3 separate regions of the Homo sapiens genome follow, and all the other regions are linked to region 3. Evidence: promoter capture Hi-C in human tissues and cell types (Jung and others, 2019). All regions are on one chromosome and are shown on one strand. The core of a region is centred on a gene start or on the middle of the fragment in contact, and the rest is flanking DNA. Distances in the headings are between cores, read along the strand shown.

What was found. The method cuts DNA at HindIII sites, captures the fragments that hold promoters and counts their contacts. A contact is called where the count stands out against the background at its distance.
Region 1: a fragment that was not itself captured here is called in contact with the fragment with the promoter of RPS20 in region 3 in 1 of the 25 tissues and cell types used here (hippocampus).
Region 2: a fragment that was not itself captured here is called in contact with the fragment with the promoter of RPS20 in region 3 in 1 of the 25 tissues and cell types used here (mesenchymal stem cells).

Annotation. Positions count from the first base shown.
Region 1 is chr8:56,968,804-56,973,239 of GRCh38, forward strand. All of the region lies in intron 3 of BPNT2 (3'(2'), 5'-bisphosphate nucleotidase 2), which reads right to left. Among named protein-coding and RNA genes, the nearest start is that of BPNT2, 23 kb to the right of the region's middle. The HindIII fragment of the contact is 3,036 bases long and covers 1,112-4,147 here.
Region 2 is chr8:55,501,966-55,506,528 of GRCh38, forward strand. All of the region lies in intron 2 of XKR4 (XK related 4), which reads left to right. Among named protein-coding and RNA genes, the nearest start is that of XKR4-AS1, 17 kb to the right of the region's middle. The HindIII fragment of the contact is 3,129 bases long and covers 997-4,125 here.
Region 3 is chr8:56,072,434-56,076,984 of GRCh38, forward strand. It overlaps RPS20 (ribosomal protein S20), which reads right to left and starts at 2,073. Exons shown (of 4, transcript NM_001023.4): 1 at 1,948-2,073; 2 at 1,627-1,726; 3 at 1,262-1,335; 4 at 621-839. The coding sequence starts at 1,950. The coding sequence ends at 657. It overlaps SNORD54 (small nucleolar RNA, C/D box 54), which reads right to left and starts at 1,468; the gene lies at 1,406-1,468. CERNA3 (competing endogenous lncRNA 3 for miR-645) reads left to right here and starts at 2,159. Exons shown (of 2, transcript NR_149110.1): 1 at 2,159-2,447; 2 at 2,574-2,841. The HindIII fragment of the contact is 21,018 bases long and covers 1-4,551 here.

The DNA.
Region 1 (4,436 bases), core at 1,380-3,879, 900 kb after region 3:
ATGAACAGTATCCTACCAAACTTCATGTCCACTTGGAACCTTCAGATTGTGAACTCATTTGGAAGCAGGATCTTTGCAAATGCAATTAGTTCAGCTGAGGTCATAGTGGAGTAAGGTGGGCTCTAAATCTAATGACAGGTGAGCTCTAAATCTAATGACTGGTGTCCTTATAAGCAGGGGAGACAGAAAGGAGACTGTCATGTGAAGATAGGCAGAGACTGGCTGGAGTGATGCATCTACTGACTAAGGAATGCCAACAATGTCTGGAGCCACCAGAAGCTGCAAGAGAAAACTTCCTCCAAGCCTGCAGAGAAAGTATGGCCCCACTGACTCCTTGATACCAGACTTCTGGCCTCCAAAACTTTGAAAGAATAATTTTCTGTTGTTTCAAGTTTGTGGTTAACTTGTTACGACAGCCCGAGGAAACTAATACAGAGTGAACCAAAGACTGTATAACTAGCCAAGTAGTCTTTTAAGTATCAAGACTATAGACAAAGTTGTTAGCATGTACTCAGGGAAGATCATACCATGAGTTAGCTCTTCTAAGGTAATCTATTACAGGACAAGCTTTATCCAACCAAGGGGTGACTGAGAAACTCTTAGCAAATGCATTGTCGGTTACCATTGAACAAATTTAACTGTGGATTTAAGGGGAAACCAAAGATGGGAATAAGGTAAAAGAATAAAGGTGTATAAATGGTTTTCTCATACTTGGCTGATAAAAGTTAAAGGACACCATTTAACTCTGACAAGCTGAACAGCAGAGTCGAAAAGTAAACATCAAAAAAAAACAACTGTCTAAAATGAAATGATGGTCAAGGATGAAATATGCTAATTTCACTGACGCTTATAGTAGTGAACCAAGAGACAATGAGACAATGTCTAAAGAAAAGGACTACATGAGTATGTAAAGAAAAAAGGATAAATAAAGGCATTAGTAAAAGCAACAAAAAGAACAAATTTAACTTAAAATAACAGTAGTTGTCTGAACCACACTGAACATATAAAATTCATTAAGATCATAAGAATATTTTACAGAGAGGAAGCCTGTTCCTTCCTGGAAAAACATGTTACCGCTGGAAGGGTTCTATACTCTAACTCCTTACTCTGAAAATTGGTAAATAAAGTAAAAGAATTAAACATTTATCCCGCTTTTCTAGAAGAAACATTTCAGGATAAACAAATTAATTCCAGTTAATAGAGAAAATTCTCTATAGAAGAATTCATGCTAATATATGTAGAAACAACAGAAACAGAAAATCTCATTTTATAACATCTTTAATAGAGCTTAAAACTATTATGCAAAAGGTTTAATAAAACTGGATCTCAAATGATGTCAAAATCTCTCCAGATTACTTGCTAGTAGCAAAAAAATAAAAATTTTGTAACTAAGAGATCAGGTCATGAACACTTTAATCATCTGAGCATCATGAATGGCGAGACAAGTATTGTGTAATATGATGCAGTAGGAAGTATGTGAAAAATACCTACAATGTATTCATGACAAAAATGCTTAACCTCAATCCAATCAAGGATTCAGATCTAATCTGCACTTTTTATAAGAGGATATAAAAATAAAGAAGTTAAATGACACCCTTTGGAAACAATCAGACAAGTCCAAAAGACAGACCATTCTAAAGGAGAAATGACTTAAGCTTCCCAACATCAATGTCATGGGGGGCATAAGGGGCCTAGGGGTTGTTCTAGATTAAGAAACCTTAACAACCTATCAACCAAAATAAATGCTTGTTGGTTGACTGGATCTTGGTTTGAAGCAATCAGCTGTAAAATCCATTTTAGCAGCAATCGGGGAAATGTAAATATTTGATGACATTAGGAAATAACTGTTAATTTTATTATATTAATATACTGTCCTTTTGTAGAAAATCTCCTTACTTTTTAGAGATGCATACTGAAGTATAAGGGTAAAATGTTTATTATGATCCTTATAATTTTCTTTAAGGTACACAGGCCAAAAAATAGGAAAGCAAATATGTAAAACTGTTATCAACTGCTAAATCAGGATGAAGGGGTATATAAGTATTCATTATAATTTTACGTTTGTTTGAAATTATTCATAAAAGTAAAAAAAAATGAAGAGAACAAAACAAAAAATCCTCTTAATCCTTTTCATAAATATTCCAAAAACCAGTTTTACTAAGAAGTGAATTTACAGTGCTTTATCTCTAGAGGTCAGTATTGTGTAAGAGAATAAAAATATTATAGCATATCTCAGTACATACTACCAGAATAATGTAAGAATTGCTGACTTAGTATTTTTAAAAATGTTCTTCATGTTACATAAACTCAATACATTTATTAGTAACACTTACATGAACATAATTATTTCAAGTGTCTAGTACAGTAGGTGCTTAAATAAATGTAAATGATGGATGATAATGAGGTATAGTGGTAAGGCAGAAGAGCAGCTACAAAATGTGTTTATTTTACCTGTAAGATAAGCTTAAAAAAAAAAAAAAAAAAGCCCAGTAGGAAATAAAAAGTGGTTGGTTGGTACGTTCCTACACCTACTTCAGAAATAACAATTTATTATTAATAGCTATAAAATTTCCACCGAGTGAATATACACTTGACCCTTGAACAACACAGGTTTGAACTGTGTGGCTCCCCTTACATCCAGATATTTTTCAATAAATATTTTGGTAAGCTTTTTGGAGATTTGTGACGATTTGAAAAAAATTCACGGACAAATTAAGTAGCCTAGAAATATTAAAAATTTAAGAAAAAGCTAGGTATGTTATGAATGCATAAAATATGTTGGAACTAGCTTATTTTGTCATTTACTACCATAAAATATACACAAAGTATAAGAAGTTAAAACTTACCAAAACTTAAGCACACAAGCACTTACAGACCATACATACGTAGTGCCATTCACAGTTAAGAGAAATGTAAACAAATGTAAAATCATAAACTGCACAAAATTATAGTATGTATTACTGAAATAATTTTGTACCACCCCCCCCCCCACAATGCTACTGTGTGGGCCCAAGTGTCATGAGCACCCACTTAAAACCCTATGTGACTTTGGGAGGCTGAGGAGGGCGGATCATGAGGTCAGAAGATCGAGACCATCCTGGCTAACATGGTGATACCCCGTCTCTACTAAAAATACAAAAAATTAGCCGGGCGTGGTGTCAGGCATCTGCAGTTCCAGCTACTCGGGAGGCTGAGGCAGGAGAATGGCGTGAACCTGGGAGGTGGAGCCTGCAGTGGGCTGAGATCACGCCACTGCACTCCAGCCGAGCGAGACTCCGTCTCAAAAAAAAGAAAAAAAAAAAGAAACCCTACGTGATGTAATCATCTCTGTGTGAGCAGTTTGTCTCTCCGGCAAACTGCTCATCATGGTAAAAAGTGATCTTTTGTGGGTTTTGCATATTTTTCATAGTGTTTAGTACAATTTCATAGTGTTTAATGCAAACTTTGAATAACACCCATGAGACTCATTTGAAGAGCCACTAGTGATGCCGGAAGTGCTCCCACCTAGAGAAAAATCATGACATTACAAGAAAAAGTTGAATTGCTTGATATACACCACAGATTGAGGTCTGTAACTGTGGCTGCCTGCTATCTCAAGATAAATGAATACAGCGTAAGAATAATTGTGGGAAAAAAAAAACAAGAAAACTCATGAAGCCATTGCTGAAGCTACACACCAACAGGTGCAAAAACCTTAACACTTTTTAATGAAATACCTTTTTATCTCATATTGAAAATGCAGCTATTATGTGGGTATAAAACTGCTACATGCCTAAAGACTGTAGTATGATTCAAGAAAAAATGAAGTCATATGACAACTTTAAAAAAAAGGAAGGTGAAGAATCTAAAGCTGGATTATTTAATGCCAGTAAAGGATGGTTTGATAATTTTAGAAAGAGGTCTGGTTTTTAAAAATGCCAAGATAACAGGAGTAGCAGCTTCTACCAACCAAGAGGCAGCAGACAAGTCCCCAGATGCCATTAAGAAAATCACTGAGTTCTGTCTGCTTGAACAGGTTTTCAATGCAGACAAGTGTCCTATTCTGGAAAAAAAAAAAAAATTTAAAAAAGGGGCCACAAAATACATTTATTAGTAAGGAAGAGAAATGAGCACTAGGATTTAAGACAGGAAGGGATGGGCTAACTCTACTGTTTTGTATAATGCAGTCAGGTTTATGACCAGGACAGCCCTTATCTACAAAACCGCTAACCCCCGAGTCTTGAAAGGAAAAGATAAAACACCAGCTGCTTGCTAGTCTTCTGACTACAACAAGAAGGCCTGGACAACAAGAATCCTTTTTCTGGATTGAGTCCACTGATGCTTTGACCCTGAAGTCTGAAAGTACTTTGCCAGTAAGGGACTGCCTTTTAAAGTTCTTTGAGTACTGGACAATGCCCCTGGCTACCGAGAACCCCATGAGTTCAACACTAAAAGCA
Region 2 (4,563 bases), core at 1,311-3,810, 570 kb before region 3:
ATATACTCTAAGTCATCTTTAAATTACTTACAATGTACAATACAGCGTAAATGCTATGTAAGGAGTTGGTATAACATATTGTTTAGGGGATAATGACAAGAAAATAAAAGTCTGTACATTTTGAGTACAGAGACAACCATCCTCTTTTTTCAAATATTTTTGATCCATGAATCTTTTCAATTTGAAAAATATATTTTTTCAATGTTTTTCAAATATATTTGAATCCATGGATGCAGAACCCATGGGCAAAGAGGGCTGACTATGTATCCAGAAATGGAATTGCCAGATCATGTGGTAATTCTATGTTTAATTGCTTGGAGAACTGACATACTGTTTTTCATACGGGATGCACCATTTAACATTCCCACCAACAGTACACAAGTGTTCCTATTTCTTCACATTCTCACCAACACCTGCTATTTTCTTTTTTTTTTTAAGTAATAGCCATACTAATAGGTATGAAATATGAAATTATATCTCATTGTGGTTTTAATTGGTATTTCTCTAATCCTTAGTGATGTTGAGTATCTTTTCATGTGCTTATTGGCCATCTGTGTAACCTCTTTGAAGAAATATCTGTTCAAATTCCTTTGCCCATTTCTAAATTGAATTTTGGGGTGGGGAGGTTGTTATTGAGTTATAGTTTTTTTTTAATATATCTTTATCAGACATATGGTTTACAAATATTTTTCCCATTCTATGACTGTCTTTTTACTCTGTTGATAGTATCCTTTGATGTACAAAGATTTACATTTTGATGAAGTCCAATTTATTTTTTTCTTTTGTTGCCTATACTTTTGGTGTCATACCCAAGAAATCACTGCCAAATCAAATATCATAAAGCTTTTCCTCTATATTTTCTTCTAAGAATTTTCTACTTTTAGTTTTTACATTTAGGCTTTTGATCCATTTTAGGTAATTTTTGCATGTGGTGTAAGGTAAGAGTCCACCCTTTTTGCATATGTTTTCCCAGACCATTTGTTGAAAAGACTTTCCTTTCCCCATTGAATGTCTTGGCAATCTTGTCAAAAATCGTTTGACCATCTATGTGGGGGTATATTTCTGGGCTCACTCTTCTATTTCATTGGTCTATTTGTCTGTCTTTCTGTCAGTACTACACTGTTTTGATTACTGTAGCTTTGTAGTAAGCTTTCAAATCAGAAATTGTGATTCAAATTTTTTTTTCAAGATTATTTTTGCTTTTCTGGGACCTCTGTGATTCCATACGAATTTTAGGATGGATTTTTCTATTTTTGTAAAAAATGTCATTGTGATAGGTATTTCTCTGAGTCTGTAGATCACTTTGGGTAGTATTGACATCTTAACAATATTAAGACTTCTAACCCATGAAAACAGGATATCTTTCCACTTATTTATGGCTTCTTTCATTTCCTTTAGCAACATTTTGTAGTTTTCAATATACATACCTTTTGCTTCTTTGGTTAATTTATAAGTATTTTATTCTTTTTCAAGCTATTATAAATGAAATTTTTTCTTAATTTCCTTTTCATGTTTCCATTACATGTATTGCAAATATATTCATGTTGTCCACTGTTAGCATATAGAAGCACAACTGATTTTATATTTATTTTTTATCCTGCAACTTTGCAATATTGACTTATTAGTTCTGTCATGTTTTTTGTGGAATCTTTAGAATTGTCTACAAATTATGTTATCTATTCAGAGATAATTTTAATTCTTCTTTTCTCATTTGCATGTCTTTTATTTCATTTTCTTGCCTAATTGCTCTGACTGGGACTTTTAATACTACTTTGAAGAGAAGTTGCAAAAGTGGGCATCCTTGTCTTTTTCTTGACCTTAGAAGAAAAGCTTTCAGTCTTTTACCATCAAGTATTTTTTTAGCTGTGGGCTTTTCGTTTATGGCCTTTATTATGATGAGGTAGTTTCCTTCTATTCTTAGTTTGTTGAGTTTTTTTAATCTTGAAATAGTGTTAAATTTTGTCAAATGCTTTTTTTGCATCTATTGAGATGATAATGTGGTGTGTTTTCCCCCTCCATTCTGTTAATGTGCTGTATTACATTAATTAATTTTTATATCTTAAATCATCCTTGTATTTCAGGAATAAATCCTACTTGGTCATGGTACAAAATCCGTTTAATATGCTACTGAATGCAGTTTGCCAGTATTTTGTTGAGGATTTTTGCATCAATGTTCATAAGGGATATTGGTTTGTAGTTTTCTTTTTTGTTGTTGTTGTTGTTTTTGTTTTGTTTTGTTTTGTTTTGTTTTGTTTTGTTTTGTTTGAGACAGAGTCTCACTCTGTCGCCCAGGCTGGAGTGCAGTGATGCGATCTCAGCTCACTGCAACCTCCACCTCCCTGGCTCAAGCAATTCCCCTGTCTCAGCCTCCCAAGTAGCTAGGATTACAGGCACACCCCACCACACCTGGCTAATTTTTTTTTTTTTTTAGTAGAGATGGGGTTTCACCATGTTGGCCAGACTGGTCTCCAACTCCTGATCTCAGGCAATCTGCCCACCTCAGCCTCCCAAAGTGTTGGGATTACAGGCGTGAGCCACCGTTCCCAGCTGTAGTTTTCTTTACTTGTAGTGTTTCTATCTGGCTTTGGTATAAAGGTAATTCTTGAATGAAGTAGGAATTGTTCCCTTCTTTTCAGTATTTTGAGAGTATTTGAGAAGGATTTATGGTAATTCCTCTTTAAATATTTGGTAAAATTTACCAGGGAATCCATCAGATCCCTGGGCTTTTCTTTGTTAGATGGTTTTGCCTAACAGATGTTATCTCCTTACTAGTGATAGGTCTGTTCAAATTTTTTATTTCTTTATGATTCAGTCTTGGTAGATTTTGTATTTCTAGGAATTTGTCCACTTCTTTTAGATTACCCAATTCTAATTGGCATACAACTCTTCATAGTATTCTCTTATAATTCTTTTTACTTCTGTAAAATTCGTAGTGATGTCCCAACTTTTGCTACTGATTTTAATAATTGAGGTTCTTTTTTTTTCTTAATCTAGCTAAAGATTTTGTCAATTTTGTTGATCCTTTTAAAGAACTAACTTTTGGTTTTCTTGATTTTCTCTATTGTTTTTCTATTCTCTATTTTATTTCTGCTCTAATTATTATTATTTCCTTTCTCCGGCAAGCTTTGTGTTTAGTTTGTTCTACTTTTTATAGTTTTTTAAGGTGTAAAGCTAGATTATTGATTTGAGACCTTATTTTTCAATGTGAGCATTTATATCTATAGATGTTTTAGCTTAGCATTGCTTTGCTGCATCTATTAGTTTTTGCTGCATCTATTAGTTTTTGCTGCGTTGTTTTTTCATTTTTATTTGTCTCAAGATATTTTATAATTTCCCTTGTGATTTCTTCTTTGACCCACTGGTTAAGAGTATGTTGTTTAAGCCTGGGCAACATAGCAAGACTTCATCTCTACTAAATAAAATAAAATAAAATAAAATAGCCAGGCATGATGGCACACACCCATAGTCCCAGCTACCTGAGAAGCTGATATAGGAGGATCCCTTGAGCCCAGGAGTTCCAGGTTGCAGTGAGCTATGATTGCACCATGATACTCCTGCCTGGGCAACAGAACAAGACCCCATCTCAAAAACAAACAAATTTTTAAAAAATAAAAATAAAGAGTATGTAGTTTAATTTCCATGTATTTGTGAATTTTACAGATTTCCCTCTGCTATTTATTTCTAGTTTCATCTCATTGTGATCCGAAAAGATACTTTCTATAATTTCAGTCCTTTGAAATGGTTTAGGACCTGTTTTGTGGCCTAATGTATGGTCTATCCTGGAGAATGTTGCATGTGTGCTTAAGAAAAATGTATTTTCTGCTGAAGTCCTCTATTTCCTTATTAATCTTCTTTTTGGTTGAACAACCTGATTTTTAAAAACAGGAAAACTAAAACAGATACTAAGATACATGAAGTAATTTGTTTTAAATCAGGCCATGTCCATCATGACACCAAATAATCTTCCTATATCAAAATATATATTTGAACTTTTAAAGCAACTTTTTCAAGAGCTGTCATATGTGGTCATACAGGTTCTGCACTGCTCAACATAAATGTGTGCAAATGCTTTAACTTCTAACTGGCAGTAGCCACCATTTTATAACTCTGAAGTAATTGAAAGACAGAATGAGATTCCCCTTGCAAAACACAGCCTGTATCCTTTCAGAGGTTTTTTGTGTTTGTGTGCCCCCTCTCCCACGAATGCATGAAATGCAAATTAAACAACAGGTGTTTTCTCTCAGTCCACAGGGCATCTGGGAGGACTTAGGACAGTGGGTGATGTAAGGAGAGGACTCCTGAATCAGTCTGGCATCTCTACTAACTAGAGATCAAATAGATAGGCCTGAAAGGCTCACAGCAAAAATCAGATACCAGCCACAAGGTTTCCCACTCAAGACCTCAGCCAGAAGGAAAAGCTGCAGATCAGGCACACACTATAGACCTGTACTGCAGTGCCTTGATCAGTCACTACCCCCAGCAGCAGCACTGACTTCATGTATGCCTTCCTTTCTCTTAGTGTCTTATTAAGAGCCTGGCTGAAGCCCTAGGAAGGTCAACACC
Region 3 (4,551 bases), core at 823-3,322:
CCCAACTACTTGGGAGGCTGAGGCAGGAGAATTGCTTGAACCTGGGAGGCAGAGGTTGCAGTGAGCCAAGAACACACCACTGCACTCCAGCCTGGGCCACAGAGCAAAACGCCGTCCCCCCCCCCAAAAAAAAAAAGTGAAAATTTTATATTTAAAATATAAAACACTGAAAATATAAGTATTTTTAAACTAAGTTTTAGTTCCTAAAACCCTAAAACTTAGTTTTAGTCCTGCCTCTGCCACTTAATCCTTTTTTAAGGACGTTAAACTTGGTTAATTTAAAAATATTAGTTACTAGCTTTTTAACACGTGCCTACTAGCGCACTAGGTTCTCAACCATGGGTGTGCATTACAAACGCCCCAGAAACCTTAACACCCCATACCAATCAGAATTTATCTAGAGTATGCCAAAGTTATAAACTGCCAGTGTCCAATAAAACCAGTCAGGTCTCACATATTATGTAGTTAACGGAATCCAGTTTTCAAATGACTCAAACGACAACGAAAACAGGATAGACCACTCTAAGATACCCATATATTCCACCTGAAAAGTGGAAGTCTCATAGTACACCTTTATATTCCTAAAATCTGCCAGTATTCTGAATAAAAACCAACAGAAGTTAACAACTGGTCATCAATTTATTAAAATAGTTGACTTAAGCATCTGCAATGGTGACTTCCACCTCAACTCCTGGCTCAATACTGATGGAAGTAATCTGCTTAACAATCTCAGAAGGACTGTGCAAGTCAATGAGTCGCTTGTGAATTCTCATCTGGAAACGATCCCACGTCTTAGAACCTTCACCACAAGGAGTTTTTCTTGTAGTGATTCTCAAAGTCTGTAACAAAAGACAAAGGAAACCAAGTGTTTATCGTTTTATACTTATCCCTAGAACATCTGGAAAATCATTACTTCTAATCATTTCATTAGTTTCCCTTTGGTATGATTCCAATTTACACTAATAGATTTTCAGGTACCATGGGTTGAAAATGCCAGGTCTGTTTTCACTGTGCTAGGACACCACCCTTAGAGCTTGCGCCTGTTAAGCACCAAAGCACACCAAGAACACAGCAACAATAATTCAACAATCATATCTAAACATTAGCTACTTACTAGGAACCGCAATCTACCACCGATTTCTATGTGCGTTTGTAGACAGCATCAGTGTTAACAATTTTGGCAGCCGAACTCCTTAAAGAACCTGAATTTATGCAACATCCGGAAGCAACTCCTACTTCCTGCCCCTCCGATTTACTTTACCTTGGTAGGCATTCGAACTGGTCCTTTCACTTTGAGATTCTTTTCTTTTGCGCCTCTTATCAAGTCAGCACACACTACAGGAAATAAAAGACCTCTCAGTATAATCGAAACAATTAAAATCGGCTTAAGGCCTTCACTTCTGCTGGCTCAGAATAGCGTATAAAATTATCACCGTTACTCAACACAATAGGTACCTCCTCATCGCCAGCTGTATGACAGTAAAAGCAATTTTAAGCCACGCTTTACTTTTTTAAGTAACTTGTCACTTTAGTTCTTGCAGTCCACCTTCTACACTAACATTAACGAGTAAAGCTCGTCGCTTTTCGCCCAATTCCCCCTCCCCCCCGCATAACGAATGCACTGACCCTTTTCCAAGGATTTTACGTTGCGGCTTGTTAGGGTGATTCGAATTCGGTGAATTGCCACCTCCGGCTCCACGGGTGTTTTTCCGGTATCCTTAAAAGCCTATTATTAGATACATGAAAAAGAACAATAAGCCAAAAATGGTCTGCCACTTCTGGAGAAAGGCAGCTTCCGGAAGCTTCCCGCGTTTCCCCACCATTTCAGGAGCGCCTTTCCGCCCCTACACGCCCCGGCATCTGCCCTCAGGAGCACGAACTCGAAACCGGGGTCCCCCCGGCGCCCGAGCCCTGCGTTGCGCCGCCCGCCGCCGACTGCCGCCTCACCATGGCTGTTGCGCGCGGGCTTCCTGACCGACTTGTTCCTCGGCGAGAGCGAACAGCGGTGAGTCAGGAGCAGGAGCGTGCGGACCAAAAATCCTCAGCCCTTACGACCGCGTCTTCCTCAAAAAGAAAGGGGTGGGACTTGAGCAACGCTTATATAGCACGCTTGCATCCGGGTCCCACACGCCCCGGAACAGGAAATATCCCGGGCCCTAGAGGCGGTCGCACAAGGGCGAGCTGGAGCACTAGTGGAGTTGGCGGGAAAGGCACGGCTGCGGGCGCCCCCTGTCCGCACGGAGGAGCCGAAGTCCCGCAGGGTGGGGTCCCCGCCTGCGCCGAGAGGGCCACCTGGTCGAGAGAACAGGCGACACGGAAACCTGAGAAACTCCTCTGTCTGGTGCACCTAACCCTCTTCCTCATAAAGTGCACACGAACTCTGGTTTTTCCGTTGCAAATTTTGCTTTCTACATAGACCATACCATTCGTTGCTCTCTGAGGATGAGGTAACTTCTCTGAGCTTAGCTGACATGAGCATTGGCAGAAATGCTTCTCGTAATCTGGATAACTTACGTTAGAATTAGTAAGCAGTTATTTTTCATAGCCTGAAACGTCCTGTTGTGATATTTCAGCTCCTGGCTTCCCAGTCCAGCAGAAGTATCTACATCTATTTCTGGAAAGGACCTGAACTTGGCTTCTCGTCCTTCTGGAAAGTGAGGCGAAAATGCCAGGCTGCGCAGCTATCCTGAGGCCCGGCCTGGAACCTGGCTAGCCACCCAGTCCTGATACCTCATCTCCTTTCTGTTGGATAAAGTCATTGGATAAGATCCCCCAGGGTCTTCTTAATACTGAACATCTGTTCATAATCACATAAGTGACCAAGTATAGTGGAAAACCCGAATGGTCAACTGAGCTGAGCAGTGGGAGAGAGCGCAGGGTGAGCTCACCTACACCTGAGCAAGAAGCCGGGGCTAAATACGTGGAAATCACTGAGATGGATTTTGATACAGGGCAGAAAGAAGAGTAAAATCATCTCATATTACTTTCCACCTGAAGCTCTGAGCCGAAAGAGTTATTTGCTCAAACACTCTGAAATGGGGAGGGACAGAGCTCTGACCCCTCCGTCCAGGCCTGTTTGTTGTTTTTTTTTTTTGTTTGTTTTGTTTTTTTTTTTTTGTGAGACGGAGTTTCATTCTTGTTGCCCAGGCTGGAGTGCCATGGCGCGATCTCGGCTCACCGCAAACTCCGCCTCCTGGGTTCAAGCGATTCTCCTGCCTCAGCCTCCGGAGTAGCTGGGATTACAGGCATGCGCCACCATGCCCGGCTAATTTTTTTTTTTTTTTTTTTTTTTTTAGTAGAGACGGGGTTTCTCCATGTTGATCATGCTGGTCTCAAACTCCAGATCTCAGGCCCGCCTCGGCCTCCCAAAGTGCTGGGATTACAGGCGTGAGCCACCGCGCTCGCCCCGTCAGGACTCTTTCTTGAGGTTTTGTCTTCTGTTCCTTGGTAGGAAATTATGTTTGAAACTTTAATCAAATAATAGCATTGTCTTATTTGGTGATAATTGGAACATAACTAATAACTGGGTTTCTTTGGCTCACGATACGTATGAGGTTTTTTGCTGCCATTTTAACAATTATTTTAAATTTTCAAATTTGGATGTTTTCCAGTTCAGTTTTTTGGGTTTTTTGTTTGTTTGTTTTTTGAGATGGAGTCTCGCTCTGTCGCCGAGGCTGGATGCAGTGGCACGATTTTGGCTCCCCGCAACCTCCACCTCCTGGGTTCAAGCAATTCTCCTGCCTCAGCCTCCCGAGTAGCTGGGACCACAGGCACGTGGCACCACTCTCAGCTAATTTTTTGTGTTTTTACTAGAGACGGTGTTTCACCGTGTTAGCCAGGATGGTCTCAATCTCCTGAACTCGCGATCTGCCTGCCTTGGCCTCCCAAAGTGCTGGGATTACAGGTGTGAGCCACCTATCCCGGCCCCAGTTCAGTTATTTTTAAATGTAATCCATTGTCTGTAAATACTCTCTTAGTAGAATTTTCAGCAGAAATTCTGAAAACCTGCATTCTTATTGTGCTAGCTGTAACCTGAGACTTCATAACTTAGAGGTTTAACTTATTGGTATGGCTGTGTGCGACAAATAGACAAAAGCACAATTGCCCTGCTCCCTGGGGTGTGATCAGCCACCGCTGTAGTACTGCCTGGAGGTGACTGTGCATATTTTAAGTGAACATATACAGCGGCATTCATGTTTTACTAATGCTCAAAGATGACTGGAAATTCAATGAAGGAATTTCATTGAGAAGTACAATTGTAATTTTGTACAAGTGTGATTTTTTTTTTATAACAAATCTGGTACATCTTTTTCTTAGGCTTACCTCATCCTTTAAGTATTTGAGGAACTGGTGAACAAGTTAACTACTTTGATAGTAAACGAGGAAATTTCTTTATAGAGAAAAGCAAAATGTGGCCCAGCAGGTATGTGAAAAATGGCTGATGTGACTAGAACTAAGGAAACAAATGGTTAAGATAATATTAGACAAAAGTAATGGAAATTTTTTTTTTTTGGAAAACAGTATGGAGGGTCCTCAAAAAATTAAAAATGG